Regions from separate parts of the Homo sapiens genome. Here all the other regions are linked to region 1. The links are contacts of gene promoters, found by promoter capture Hi-C in blood cells and fetal thymus (Javierre and others, 2016). All regions are on one chromosome and are shown on one strand. The core of a region is centred on a gene start or on the middle of the fragment in contact, and the rest is flanking DNA. Distances in the headings are between cores, read along the strand shown.

Evidence for each region. Contacts are between HindIII fragments. The CHiCAGO score rates a contact against its expected background, and 5 or more counts as called.
Region 2: a fragment that was not itself captured here is called in contact with the fragment with the promoter of ACOXL in region 1 in 1 of 17 cell types (monocytes); the score reaches 5.1 in monocytes.
Region 3: a contact is called between a fragment that was not itself captured here and the fragment with the promoter of ACOXL in region 1, in 1 of 17 cell types (monocytes). The highest score is 5.4, in monocytes.
Region 4: a contact is called between a fragment that was not itself captured here and the fragment with the promoter of ACOXL in region 1, in 1 of 17 cell types (neutrophils). The highest score is 5.4, in neutrophils.
Region 5: a contact is called between a fragment that was not itself captured here and the fragment with the promoter of ACOXL in region 1, in 1 of 17 cell types (naive CD8 T cells). The highest score is 5.7, in naive CD8 T cells.

Annotation. Positions count from the first base shown.
Region 1 is chr2:110,731,104-110,734,018 of GRCh38, reverse strand. ACOXL (acyl-CoA oxidase like) reads right to left here and starts at 1,446. Exons shown (of 18, transcript NM_001142807.4): 1 at 1,245-1,446. It overlaps LOC124906064 (a long non-coding RNA gene), which reads left to right and starts at 1,594. Exons shown (of 3, transcript XR_007087181.1): 1 at 1,594-1,665; 2 at 2,115-2,183; 3 at 2,384-2,658. The HindIII fragment of the contact is 3,688 bases long and covers 1-2,759 here.
Region 2 is chr2:111,188,156-111,191,070 of GRCh38, reverse strand. No RefSeq gene overlaps it. Among named protein-coding and RNA genes, the nearest start is that of BCL2L11, 69 kb to the right of the region's middle. The HindIII fragment of the contact is 6,613 bases long and covers 1-2,915 here.
Region 3 is chr2:111,168,182-111,171,096 of GRCh38, reverse strand. It overlaps BCL2L11 (BCL2 like 11), which reads right to left. Exons shown (of 4, transcript NM_138621.5): 4 at 2,653-2,915. Among named protein-coding and RNA genes, the nearest start is that of BCL2L11, 49 kb to the right of the region's middle. RefSeq lists an enhancer at 2,195-2,304. The HindIII fragment of the contact is 3,263 bases long and covers 1-2,915 here.
Region 4 is chr2:111,142,132-111,145,046 of GRCh38, reverse strand. All of the region lies in intron 2 of BCL2L11 (BCL2 like 11), which reads right to left. Among named protein-coding and RNA genes, the nearest start is that of BCL2L11, 23 kb to the right of the region's middle. The HindIII fragment of the contact is 2,113 bases long and covers 472-2,584 here.
Region 5 is chr2:111,091,490-111,094,404 of GRCh38, reverse strand. It overlaps ACOXL (acyl-CoA oxidase like), which reads right to left. Exons shown (of 18, transcript NM_001142807.4): 17 at 1,439-1,540. Among named protein-coding and RNA genes, the nearest start is that of ACOXL-AS1, 23 kb to the left of the region's middle. The HindIII fragment of the contact is 5,723 bases long and covers 1-2,915 here.

The DNA of each region.
Region 1 (2,915 bases), core at 197-2,696:
TCTATATTTTTTCTGCTGGAATACTACACATCATGTGGTCTCTGGAAACTGCCACTGTACATTAGTGAGAGAATGAGAGTGAAAAAGCTAATAACTTTTTTTGTATTACTATAAAAACAGTTTGTACTCATGAACCGCCTGAAATGCTCTTGGGTCCCCCCAGGGCTCCCTGTACCACACTTTGAGAACCATAACTTAAAGAACTATGTATGAGAGAGAGGGAAAGAGAAGTCGGCGAGACACTGATGGATATACCCACCATCCCACACTTCTCACTTTTCAACTTTCAAACGCCCCCAACTCCCCACTAGGTAACCTCAGTGCAGGAACCCCAGATTCTCCAAGGACAGCCTGACGTTCACTCAAGCCATCTCCTTCCCTCTCATTTCCGCAAAATAAATTAAACGAGGGCTAAGTGGGCATGGCTAACCAATTAATCCTCCACGGGCACATACTGACATTTTTAATAGGGCCTTTCTTAAGCTAGAACTCCAAAGCATGCCTCCAACTGGGCTTTTCAGACTGCTTGAAATGGGTATGAGAAAGAGAGCCCACAGGAGACACGAATGCCGAGTTCTGGTCCTGACTGTCCGGTGACTGAACCATCTCTCTATCTCCAGTGCAGCTCAAGCACTCAACCCTCTGCCTGCTTCTCAGGGCTGTCCTGGCATCGGATGACATCGAGGACCTGAGTTCTTCTTATAACCAAACCGCCCCGCTGAAGCTGCCCATTCCGCACACCTGCACTCCGAGGGGGTCCTGTAAGCCTGTCCCACCCCGACGCCCAGACACGCCCTGGACAGGGCCACTCCATCCCTGTGCGCCCATCCCATCGCGGTTTTCTGTCCCCTTCTCCCCACCAAGGGTGGGACATCGCGGGGCGGGGACTCAAGAAACAGGTTCAACAAACCAGCAAGGCCGATCTTCCAGCCACACGGTCTTCGTAGACACCGCGCCTGTCACCGCGGGGCCCAGCCCTGCACCCGACTCTTCGTGGGGGAGGGAGCTCGGGAGGAGAGGGCACCTCTCAGGGGGCCGAAGAGGTCGGCGGCGGCCGGCTGCGCCCACACACCTGGGGAGGGGAGCCCGTCACCTGCGGCGAGGCAGGGACCCGCCTCTCAGGCGCGGCGCACACCCCACCTCGCCCTCGCCAGGGCGTTGTCCGCAGCGACGCTCCGGGGACCGAGGGGACACGCTCGGCGGCTTCGGGGGCGCGGGCAGGGGCGACGGCCGCAGCGCGGTACCTTTGCCGGAAGAGCGGGCGCCGCCGAGGAGTCCGCGCAGCTCGTTCTTGAGGCTCCAGAAGTCGCCGTCCAGGTAGCGGTGCAGGGAGGAGTCCCCGAGCCCCAGACCCGGCGCCGGCTGCATCGCGCTCACCTGCCTCTGCTTCTCCGCGTGGCTGGCAGGGCCGGCTTCGCTCCGCGCCTCCTCCAGCTCCCAGCAGGTGAGGCCCCAGGCGCACGCCCTCTCCCTCTCCACCCCTCCCGGCCCGTCTCCTCCCTCCTCACCTTCCTCTCCCCTCCCTCCCCGGCCCCGCCCTGCCCTGGCTTCCCGGGCGGGAGGTCCGGCGCGAGCGGGCGCTTCTACGGTGGCCTCCCCTTGCCCTTCCGAGGAAGCGAAAACTCTACCCTCCAGTTATCAACTGTCCCTCAAGATTTGTGAGCCGTAAGAAACAAGTACTAGACCCCTAGAAAGGGTGCCAGTCACGTGGACCTGGGCACCAGAGGCCCGGCTGCTCAGGACTGACCGGCTGACCCACTCAGCAGATCTCCCGGCCAGCCACTTTGCCTGACCCCCACGACCCAAGATAGCCTGGCTCCAGCTCTGGCCCCTCCTCAGCTGTATCTCACCTCTTCCCCGCACTGGGCATTACTGTGAACTCTAATATCACGGTAATCTAAAGGCGTCCCAGGTCTACAGCACTGCAGTCCAGGGTAGCTGGAAGCTGCATTCATGACGAGGTGATCGACCGGAACACGATACTCATTTCCCAGGACACTCCTTTTTTTGTTGTGGCTGGAGGAAAATGAGTTATAACCTAAGTGGAAAATGTTCCTTCCTTTCTGCTCCCTAATTCTCATATACCTTGTTGATTCTCCTTTTAAATACTCAAGGAAATGTTAGCCGTTCCCTTCCAGAGGCTACTTTGCTGGGGAGATGATGGTGTGGTCTGCTGTCGTGAGGTTAGTGGATGCCATCTGTATTCGTTTCCAGTAACAAATTCCCACAAAGTGAGTGGCTTAAGATAGCACCAATTTATTCTCTTACATTTCTGGAAGTCAGAAGTCCAAAATAGGACTTACAGGGTTAAAATCAAGGTGTTGGCAGAGCTGGGTTCCTTCTCACAGCTCCAGGGAAAAATGCATTTCCTTGTCTTTACTAGCTCCTAGAGGCTGCCTGCATTTCTTAGCTCCTGGCCCCTTCGTCTGTCTTCAAAATGCATCACTTCAAGCTCTGCTTTCATCGTTCCATCTTCTACTGACTTTGACCTTCTTGCCTCCCTTGGACTTGTTTACATGGGACCCATGGGAATAATCCATGGTCAATGGGAATAATCTTCCCACCACAAGATCCATACTTTAATCACACCAGCAATGTCCATTTTGCCATATCAGAAACACACTCTCCGGTACTAGGGATTAAAACATGAGCACCTTTGGCGAGTCATTCCTCTGTCTACCACACCTGTGCAGCTGCGAGTAATAATACCCAGTCATCCATGATAAAAGGGGCTTTGTTTTCTCACATCACAGGAAGCTTGGTGGTAGGAAAGCCCCAGGGGTGAATTTGATGGCTCTACCCTGGGGACCCAGGTCCTTTGCATCTTTCTGCTCCACCATCCGCCATCCTTTCTCTATATGTAATCGTTACCTTTTTTTTTTTAACTTGTCTTCTACCAGTTGTAAGATGGATGC
Region 2 (2,915 bases), core at 202-2,701, 460 kb before region 1:
CTGAATTGTGGGCTCCTGGGGGGAAGGGATCTGTGTCTTGGAGGGGAGTCTGAGAGAGACTTCTGCCTTCCCCCTGCAAGCGGGGCCAAGGCTCTGGCTTCGTTAGAGCCAAGGCTCAAGGAACATACAAGAGGTAGCCAAAAACTAGGCACCCCACCCATCCACCCAGCTTTGTAAAGTGTGAGCTGAGGTTCTGGTGCAGCAACTCATTTAATCCTTGTCACAGCATCCTGATTTCCCCACCACCATTATCTCCATTTTAAAGATGGGGAAACTGAGGCACAGGGTGTCTAAGTAACAAGCCAAGGTGCCACAGTTACTAAAACTGCAGGACCCAGGATATAAACCCTGGCCATCAGCACCTGAGCCCACAGTTATAATCACTCTACCAGGCTGCTGTGCTCCTACACGGGGCAGGGTTTCTGGGGGTCACTAGCCTGGCTGGCCCAGCATTCCCTGGGAGATTTGACATGCAGATGTCCACACACACCCCTGCTGAATCAGGATCTGAGGAGACTTGAGGCCTAGGAATCTCTAGCTGATTCAGTGTGGCAGGCCACACAAAGGTTACTAGCATCCTTAGGACTAAAACTAGATTATAGTTTCTGCATGGACCTGCCTGGATACAGACATGTTCCTGAAAAGACCTGGGTATATAGCAATTGTGGCCTGTGAATCAAAGCCCAAAGCTACTAGGGGAGCCAGTTCTGGAAAGATCTCTCCAACAGCTGTTTACAGAGCCCAAGGGCTCCCCAAGAGGCATCTTTGCCTCAAACCACTTAGCTCTTCCATCCAACACACTTGAATCAAGCCTTTCTTTTCTTTTTCTTTCTTTTTTTTTTTTTTTTTTTTTGAGACAGAGTCTTACTCTGTCACCCAGGCTGGAGTGCAATGATGCAATCTCAGCTCACTGCAACTTCTGCTTCCTGGGTTCAAGCGATTCTCCTGCCTCAGCTTTCTGGGATTACAGGCATGCGCCACCATGCCCGGCTAATTTTTGTATTTTTAGTAGAGATGGAGTTTCACCATATTGGCCAGGTTGGTCTCAAACTCCTAAACTCAGGTAATCCGCCCACCTCGGCCTCCCAAAGTGCTGGGATTACAGGCATGAGCCACCACACCCAGCTTGTATTGAGCCTTTTCTACGGGTTAGGGAAACTGGCATGGTGTGTGCTCAACACGCAGAAGACAGGCAGCTCTCTGGTTGTGCATGGAGCTCCCAGCACAATGCCCAGCCCGTGGGACGGAGCAGAGCAGCCAGGCTGCTGACTGGGTAGAAAGAACACCTAGGACAAGCCTGGCGGGAAGTCTGGCAGACCCGCAAACCCTATTCGCCTCATGCATAAAATGCATGTGATGATAATAATAAAGGCTGCCTGGTCTGCTTTACAAAGTGGGAGGGAGATTGGCCAGTTTGGCCATCAACATTAGACACTCTCCATATGCTGAGTGATTTGCCACCACTCATTTCACCTACCTGGAGGTCCTGAGGGGAAGAGATTTTCATCTCCATTCAATGAAGGATGCTAAGGAGTAAATGCAGAGCTGAGATTGCTACCCAGCTCTGCAGACTGTAAGCAATTTTCACTGTGATGATCAAAGTGGAAGAGTGGAATGAGGACAACAGTGACAATATTGGAGGCCTGCACTGTGGGACCCAAGGCAGGAGGGCACAGGCCTCTGAGATCTGGGTTGAATGCCCTGGGGCCTGGGCTGGAGGGGGAGAAGTTAGTGAGCTGGAAGTCTGAACAGGTTTGCAAAGGGTAGGGCTGGCCTGGGGAGCCCATGACCCATGTACATTGGTGCAATGGTGATAACGAGGACGATAATTTTTAAAAAGAATACCACCTCCATACTTAAAAACATGGAGAAAATGCATTAGCCAAGATGACTGCAATAAGATCTCCTATCCCAAATGGTCTTCTCACTCCTCCCAAAAAGAGGTGGGGTTTATTGTCCATCCTTGAATCTGGGTGGACCTGCAACTATGGCAGAAGTGACATTCTGTGACTTCTGAAGCCAGGTTATGAAAGGCAATGCAGCTTCCTCCTGGTCTTATTGGGACACTCCCATTTGGAACCCAGACACCATGCTGTGGGGTAGCTCAGGCCACATGGAGAGACCATATAGAGGTGTTCCAGCCAACAGCACCAGCTGAGATCCCACCAACAGACAACGTCAACCACCATCCACCACCATCCCTGTCAGTCCAGAAGCCTTCAGGTGACTCCAGCCTAGCCTGACCGCATCTACAAAAAGGACCGTGAGTGGCCCTTCTGAGCTCAGTCAGCCACCAGAACTATGAGAGCTAATAAAAAAGGATTGGTGCTATGGTTTAAGCTACTAAGTTGTAGATGGCTCATTATACATCAATAGATCACTAGAAGAGGAAAAATCCATTTTATTTGGGGCTTAGGCGAAAGTGAAGTGCCTGGGCCAGGTAACAATTAATTTCCTCACTTTCGGTACTATAACAATTTCTAGAAGCTCAGTAACTATTTCTAACATTTTAAATTTATTTTTGTTGGATTTGGAAGAAAAGTAAATGCATTTTTTTTTTTTTGCAAGGAGAGAGGATGTAGGTTTGGTCTTGTCTAAGCTCATGCAGACATACCTCACAGATAACATCTTGGTTCTTTTTGGCAAAGATGGAATAGCCCAGGCGTTGAAGATGGTATGTGCATGGGTGAGTGAGTGTGTGAGTGAGTATGTGTGTGTATGTTTTTACTTTTAGTGATCGGAATTTTCAAGGAAGGAGGAAGAAAGAATAAAATTTCAATCCCCTGCCCTCCTCCCCACTCACTCTGTATAATCTGCAGTTCCCATGGAGGCCCCAGGTTTTTGTGTGCAATTTGATGGTGTCCAGAGGCTGCCCTGGCTGCACACTCTGCCTCCCGGGCTGGGGGACCTGCTAG
Region 3 (2,915 bases), core at 310-2,809, 440 kb before region 1:
AAACTCAAAACAGATAAAACTCAAGTAATTAAAATAATGTAGATTAAACAAAAGGATCAATGAAAAAGGCAAGAGCTGAGATACAGAACCGTATGTATTAGACTTTGGTATATTGTCAAAGGATCAATTTAGGCTGGTGGACAAAAAGACAACAGTGCTGGCTTTCTGTGGGGTAAAAACTAAATACTGTGGATCACTAAAAAAATAAATTCCAGGTGGATTAAGGTGAAAAAAAAACCCCAAACTGTACTGGTTATATGAATAAAACATAAGAAAATATATTTAAAACTTTGTCATAGATAAGTTGTCTTAAACGAGATACAAAATACAGAAACCTAAGCAAGACTGACAGACTGACAAATCTGACTTCTTTTTTTTTTTTTTTTTTTTTTTTTTTGAGACGGAGTCTCACTCTGTCGCCCAGGCTGGAGTGCAGTGGCGCGATCTTGGCTCGCTGCAGGCTTCGCCCCCCGGGGTTCACGCCATTCTCCTGCCTCAGCCTCCCGAGTAGCTGGGACTATAGGCACCCACCACCTAAGATGACAACTTCTACATAAAATACACCACAAGCAATTAAAAAACATGCTGCAGAATAAAAACATATGTTCACAAAAGAGACTCATATGCTTTGTATGAGAGTATTCATAGCAGATTTATTCATCATAGCCCCAAACTGGTAAGAACTCAGGTGTTCATTAATAAGACAATAGACAAAGCATGGTTTGTTCACACAATAGACTACTACTTAGTAATAAAAAGGAAGAAATTACTGATAATTGTAACATGGATCTCATATTCTGAGCAAAAGAAACCAGACACGACACAAAAGACCATATACTGTTATGGTTCCATTAATATGAAGTTCAGGAAGAGGTAAGACTAATTTATGACGGAAAAGAATCTCAGAACAGAGGTTACCAATGGGGGCAGGAGAGGAGGGATTACCTGGAAAGCAGATAACTTTCTGGGAGTTACGGTAGTATTCTTTATCTTGACAAGGGTTTGAGAGACAGCTGTATCCTTGGTCAAAATTTAGCAAATGCACACATAGGATTTGTATGTTTTACTTTATGTAAATTTTATCTTTGGAGAAAAAAATTATAAAAAATTGATGAACTCTAAATGATGCTGAAGTATTTGGGGATAAGAGTATTGGTGACAACTTGTTTTGAAATGCACCAAAAAATAAGCCGGATTAATAAATGAATACATGATAATGCAAAGGTAGTAAAAGTTAAAGGTAGAAGCTAGGTAGTGAGTGCATGGGTATTCTCTGTAAAACTCTTTTGACTTTTCTGAATGTTTGGAAGTTTTCACAATAAAATGTTGGGAAAAAAAGGCAACAGATTGAAGGAAAAGTATTTCCAACATATAAGAGATTTTTTTGTCCAGAATGTATAAAGAGCTAATCATCAATAGAAAAAATACTCAACCAAAAATTAGCAAAAACTTTCAGAAAAAAAGGCAAATGCCACCAGTGCCTGAAAAGATCATCCTACTGCATTGATAGAAAAATTCAAATGAGCACCACTTGCTCCTCACCCAGCAGGCAGACACCAGCTCACTCATGTCTGACAGCACTGGGGGTAAGTGGGTGTTCTTATGTGCTGCCAGGGCCCGTGTGAAGTGGAGCTGCCACTTTGACAGTGTCTTCCAGAGTCTGTTGAGGCTGATCTTCCACCTCCCTGTACCACAAGAGTGGGATACCTATGAGCAAATTCTATGCCTGTGCTCTGGCACTTGCTGCAGTAGTTAGCATGAAGTGGAGTCGCTATGGAAAGATATGTGACCTATTGCTAAGTCAGAACCATATACAGAGCTATGGCACTTACAGAAAAGCAAAACTGCTGTGTGAGTACACACAACACACACACACACACACACTGCAGATTAAGAGTCCAGGAGAATGCAAACTCCTACCTCAGTGAGGAGGTAGGATTAAGACAGAACAATTTGATTTGAAACAAATACAATTTGAAATAAATTTACAAGACCATATTCATGTATTACTCACCCGATTGAAAGCATTAACAGATTGTTAGTCTAAAAGAAAGCTGAGTCTGTCTTTCACTTTCCCAGCACTTAGGGTGAAAGTGCCAAATTAAATACTTATTAGGATTTTATCACCTGTATCCCCAAACCAGGCTTTAATTTCTTTCACTCATTCCTAAGGCAATTCCCATCCACCCTACATGACGGGAGCTGGGAACTTGGCGGTTCCTGGTCATCATTTCACACACAGGGTCTAGGCACGTTTGGGTGACCCCTTTGACCCTGAGCAGGTGCTGCAGACAAGCCCTTTCTATTATGGGGTTGATGGGGTAAGATGGCTGGGCACCTGCCATATCACTCATCAACACAGTACAGAGCCGGCTCCTAGTACACTTCCCTGCCCCCACAACTCCCCACCCAAGTGCTGAGTCATATCTGACTGTGCAGGCAGAATACTTTTCGCACCAGCCACATCAAAACTTTAAAGACTCGTTTACTTTTAAGTGTACTGCACGGATTCGTCTTCAAGCAAAAATATATGAGCTACACACAGCTACATTTTATGACTGATAATAGCAGATGTGTGGGCGTGTACATGTTCATATATAATTTCAGCTGTTTCTCTGACATTTTGTGCAAACAAATCAAACGCTCACCAAAACTAGTTGAAAGTTTTATTTTTATAAAATTAACATAAAAGATTGTTTAAAAATCTGCAGTTATTTACAGCAGTATTGCACAAGTAAAGTGGCAATTACCCTGTCAAAATTCATCAGTGCAAAACACAAGTAAGCCAGGGAAACTGCAATACAAATGCTACATACGCTGGGTCCTAGAAAACAGGTTAGTGATGGATCAGTATACAGCCAGATCAGTGCTATTTATAAGTGGGTACCTGATGAGTTCTGATACAGTAACTAGTG
Region 4 (2,915 bases), core at 279-2,778, 410 kb before region 1:
ATCAGCGTGAATTAAGCTTTGAATCGATATTCAACTCAGAACTGAGAGAGGATTTTACACACATAATAGAACATACTTAGCCAAAAAGTGCACATTCTGTCTGGCACTTGCGGGAAACAGCCAGGCACAGCCAGGGACTGCAGGGGTGTGAGGAGAAAGAAGGCCTGTCCTTCAGACATTGCAGGGCTGTCTACCTTTACTCTCCAGAGAGATTCTGCTTTAACCACCAAAAGCAATAAAGGATCCTGTAAAGGGCCATTTCTTTGTGGACTCTGAAACCAGCTTTAAACCAATTCCAAGAGATACTCCGAAAATGTTTAGGGGAGTCACTGCCTCTGTCTGCAGGTGGGCTCTCTGAAGCTGACATTCATTTAGAGAAAGAAAAATTCCAGGATGTTTATTCAACTCTGTAAGTCTCCTTCTTTAAATATCTTCAGAAATATCTTTCTAAATTCAGAGTTATCCAAAGCTTACAAGAGGAGGGAAGCAACAGACCAGCCCCCTTATGTTTCCTTATAAAACTCACCTGGGTGATGGAGCTGTTTCTAGTCCCAGTTAGCTATAAGGCAAAGGAGAGCAACTGCCATCAGCGTTTGCGGTAAATGCTATCAGAATCATGTTTGAAATCCTCAACTCTGACGGTTCTCAGAAATAAAATAAGCAAGTAACCAACAACACACACACACACCTCCCTCCAGGTCTATTTCTCACTTGTATCATTTTATTTTTTGGCAATCCCAATCAATTCCGCTGAGCCACTGGATGAAAACAAAAGCTATGAGAAATACGATGACAGCATTAGTACTCAAAGATTCCTCAATCTGTCTCCCTGGAACACATTTGTGTCAAAAGCCTGGGCAGTCACATGAATTCAAGACAGTGCTTCAAAAACAGCTGCTAGGATAAAATACTATCAATAATAAAGTTTATGAGATGAGGCCAGTGTTTTCATACTTACTCTTTCAACGTGCACTGCCCATTGCCTTTATGGAGCCATGGTCAAAAGAAACAGCTTTCATCAATTTCCAGCCTGACCATTTGGAAACTGCCAGTAAACCAAGGCTGTGAAGTTGGACAGAAGTCTGGAAACTAGTGTTCATGAGATTTTTTCCCTCATTCACTATTATCTGTCCCTTATAATAAAAATACAAGTCTAAAGACATTAAGATTAATGTGTTATGCCTTTTTACTCATTTCTCATTCAACATCAGAAAAACTAATTATCCATGTCACCAGAGCTGTCCCCGACACACATATTAACATATTTACTAGCAGCTGGGGACAAGCCAGGAGCAAACCCAGACTGAGCTGTGATCCCTATACTCAAGGACATCCCCAGCTGAGTCACGACAGAAGCCCAGCATCTTGCACCATGTGGGAGACCTGAGCAGGAGCCCTCTAAGACTCCCAGCCTGTGTGCCCGCTTCCTGGGACAGATGCACATTTCCTAAGGCACTGCTGTCCTCGCTGAAGAACACTGAGTGCTACGATGCTATTCCTCGTAGGGAATTGAAATGTTCCCTTCTAAGCCCCACTTCAATCTTGATTCTGCCCCTGGGACTATAAAGGAAATCTATGATCCCTCTCAATCATCACCCCACTTTTTGTCAGTGAACCTGTGCCAAACCTGGTCCTAAACCAGTTCTTTCCATGTGCCTTGTATGACATCCCCTGGGAAGCCCCTTGACCACCTGGCCCGCCTTGGTGTGCTCCTGAAATCGCTGCTCTGAATAGTGTGTGACAGTGTTCTGCCCCTGGTGTTCTGCCAGTGTTCTTCTGGGGAAAGACACGGGACACTGAATACTGCTACTACTCCTTAGTTTTTCTACACCAACCTTCATCCTAGTAAGTCTCTGCGACAGCCACAGCTCCATTTCTATAGCTTTAGATTACTTTCAGGGGATTAAAAGTATCTGACCTGTGCCATTTTATTCTGAAAAACAAAAATAATCCCAAAACTAAGGACAGCTAAAAGAAGACCAACCCTGAAATTACTTTAGTGCAAAGACACAAATCCCTATATTTTTTCTACTGACGAGGTAAACTACCCAATTTATTTCCCCATAAGAAGAAAAATGCTTTAGAGACCTTTTAAAAGTAAAGATAAAACTCTATATACATTGGTTCACTTAAGACCATTCCTTAGAATTAAAATGCTTAATTTGAAGTTACTGTAAGTTGTTTCTAGCCAAAAAACCAGATCTGGGCAAGAGGGGAGGGAGATGAGAATTTAAACAAAAAATATAAGAATTTCTGATGACAAAATAAGTGTGGCTTCCTCTATGAAATTTAAAACCAGTAGCAGGAAACTGGTGATTAACATCTTTTCTCCTAAACTCACATTAAGGTCTTCAGTATTACTGTTTTCACCTCCATGATAAGAAAGACCAAGACACAGGTAAAAAATAAGAGCAAAAACAGAATCCTTAAAAAGCTACACCTTAAACAGTTTTTAAAATAAAAATGGAAAAAGCCTATAATGTATACGGTTAAAACTTACAATGGTGATATACAAAGTGAAGTACAATTTAACACAGATATGATTATTGATAACACACTGTAGGGCTAAGACATAATGAAAGCTTCTCACTTAAAAGTCACAAAAGGCAGCTGCTTCTTTTTATCCCATTTTGAATAAAAAGAAAAACTTTTCACCTTGATTTTGCTAACCACTTGAGTGGCCACTGAACTTCCCTATGAAGGGCAATTCTGAGGGAGGATCCAGCGGAGTCATCTGCAAGCCATAAAAATGTTGTATAAATAAATTGTGCCATGTCTTCCCAGACAGATAACTTGTTTTGTCACAGAAGGAAAAGAACAGGAGGTAGAGTCTTCATTAGCACAAGTGCAAGTTAAGGATGTAAAGAATTCTGTGCTGAAAGACTGTGTTCTGGTGCTTTTGAAGGTCTTCCATG
Region 5 (2,915 bases), core at 222-2,721, 360 kb before region 1:
TAAATTACCCAGTCTATGGTATTCTGTTACAGCAGCAAAAAATGGACCAAGACAAATAATAAGTGGTGGTTGTTTTAAGTCGTAAGTTTGGAGTCATTTGTTATACAGAAATACATTACTGTAGCATCATTACATATACTTTTCTCTGTAACCTCCGTTTTCCTGAAAAGGAAAAATGTTCTTCAAGGTTCTCCAGGGTCCACTGTAGTCTGGTTCCTGACGACTTCTCCAGGTTTTCCATTAGACAGGTAAAGTCTTTATTGTTTATTAATATGTCTAAGTACTCCATGTCTATGATCGTCCTCACTTTATCAACCCTGTCTGAAGTTTCAACTGCATTTTCCCCTCTCAATTGGGCCACCATCTCTTAATTTTCTACTCTTCAAGGTCTAGCATAAGAATGGCATTTATTCCTAAGACGTCTGTTCTGTCAACTCTGAATTTATTCTTATGGCCAAGTTCATTCGAAAACCTCCATGCCCTGTGAGAGTATTTGTGTTTTGTTTTGTTGTTTTTTGCTGTTGTTGTTTTGTTTTGTTTTGAGATGGAGTCTCACTCTGTAGTCCAAACTGGAGTACAGTGGCGCAATCTCTGCTCACTGCAACCTCCAACTCCAGGGCTCAAGCGATTCTCGTGCCTCAGCCTCCCGAGTAGCTGGGACTACAGCCACATGCCACCACGCCCAGCTAATTTTTTTGTATTTTAGTAGACAGGGTTTCACCATGTTGCCCAAGATGGTGTCGAACTCCTGAGCTCAGGAGATCTGCCCGCCTCAGCCTCCCATAGTGCTGGGATTACAGGCATGAGCCACTGCACCTGGCCAGTATTTATGTTTTTAAAGTGGTTTTGTGTCCTTGGATATGAGCTCCCTTCATGTGGAGACTGAGTCTTATACCTGTTTGTGTTTCAGCATCTCTCCTGCAGAAAGGATGTAATCAGAAATGTGTTTTACTGATGAGTATGCTGTTTCACATTCTTTTTCTTTGCAGTAGCATTTTCGTGGTGAATACTGGCCTCACCTTCTTTTTCAGGTGCTCCGTAGCTATTGTATTGAATTCCCCATGGCTACCACTGACATAAAAATACCCCGGGTCTTTCTTCTTAATATAAACAATGTATTAATAGGCTTTGGTAAGAAGCAGAAAAGAAATCACTAACACTTTTTTTTTTTTTTTTTTGGCCAAGACAAGGAAAACATTTTGATACCTTCCTCTCCTTTTCATGTTAGAAAACTCATGTACAGTGAGTCACTCCCTTGTCACCTAAACTCTTAAGTGTAATACGATCATGATAGGTAATGAAAATATACATGTGAAGTCCCAGAGGCATAAAAATCCATGAGTGGAAACTGATAGAAGATTGGCAGGACTGTTTTCTAAGAAAGCAAGGAGACCAGGGCTGATGTACAAAGTGTTTTTCTGTACCCCAGGGACCTTACCTGATTCCTGATCCTCGTGCTGGCCATGGGAGTCAAGTATTTATGTTCTAAATACCAGGCCCGCTCCTGAAACACCAGCTTGGTTCCATACAACAGACAAAACTAAGGGGTGGGGGAAAACAAAAGAAATGGACAAATAGCAATATATTAGAAAACACAAAATCTAAGGAGGCGAAAGAGAAATAACATAATATTACATTTCATAAAATCGTAAAAGTTAATACTTTCCTAATGTAAAATGGCCATGTTTTGGATGTGCAGTATAGGTTTTATTTTTTAAAAGAATTCTATGAAAAATTTAAAGCATATACAAAAGTAGAACAAATAGCATAACGAACTCCCATATATCCTTCCCCAAAACTCAAGAAATTTTAACTCACAACCAACCTTATTTCATATGTAACCTACCTGGTTCTCCTCTAGCCCACGTTATTTAGGAGCAAAGTCCATACAGCAAAGTCCACGTGAAAGATACTGTAAAGGTACATCCTGAATAATAATATCTTGATATTTTCCATTGAGCATGGTTTGGGTAAACTTTCACAAAAAATAGCATTCCTCATTTACATTTTGTTTCAGTATGTTTTTTCCTATTATGTTTCTGAAACCTACACACAGAGCTTCTGCATCACATCATGGGCACCAAGCAACAATAAATGAGTTTCCCTGTAGGAAGAAGTCACTTTTTATTTAACTGTTTATTCACGTAACTCTCGATATTCAATAATTTCAAAATCACGCAAAAATAGAGAGCATAGTATGGGCCTCATGTCTCCATCACCCATATCCACTCATCGCGAATCCTGTTTTTACTCTGCTCCCACCTATTCCCCTTCTCTGTATCACTGCAAAGCAGACCTCAGTCATATCATTTCACCCACAAATATCTCACTGTGTATCTCTAAAAGATAATGACACATTAGAAGTAAGATAGCCTCAAAACCAAACCAAGCAAAAACAAAACCCTCTTATTCTGAGTCAAATAGAAATGATCTTCCCACTAGAAGACAATTTGCCTTCTATGGCTTATCAGACTCAGAAGTCATGTGGTTCACAGTCATGTGGTTCACAGTCATGCAGACCCTGTGGTCTCCTCATTCCTTTCTTGGGGTTCTGGCGTATCCTTGGAACAGCATCATTATGAGGAGCCTCAACTATTCAGTCTTCCCAGAAAGTGTCACAGTATGGCTGAGCAGCTTATTTATGAAAGATATTTAAGGTTAATTTCAGCTCTTTTATGAAATTACCAAAGTCTGGACAGTAGTTCCTTGGCCAGATTAAGTGCCCTTTGGGTCTTTTACATGACACCAATAAAGATGTTAGCTGACCCTTCAGATAGTGTGAGCAACTGAGACTATGAACTGCAATTCATACTGAAAACATAAATTCTTATAAAAATAATAAATCATATAAATTATGTGGTTAAGCCAAATCATGAGTCTCTAGATGAACTTCTTATGTGCTACAAAAATATTTG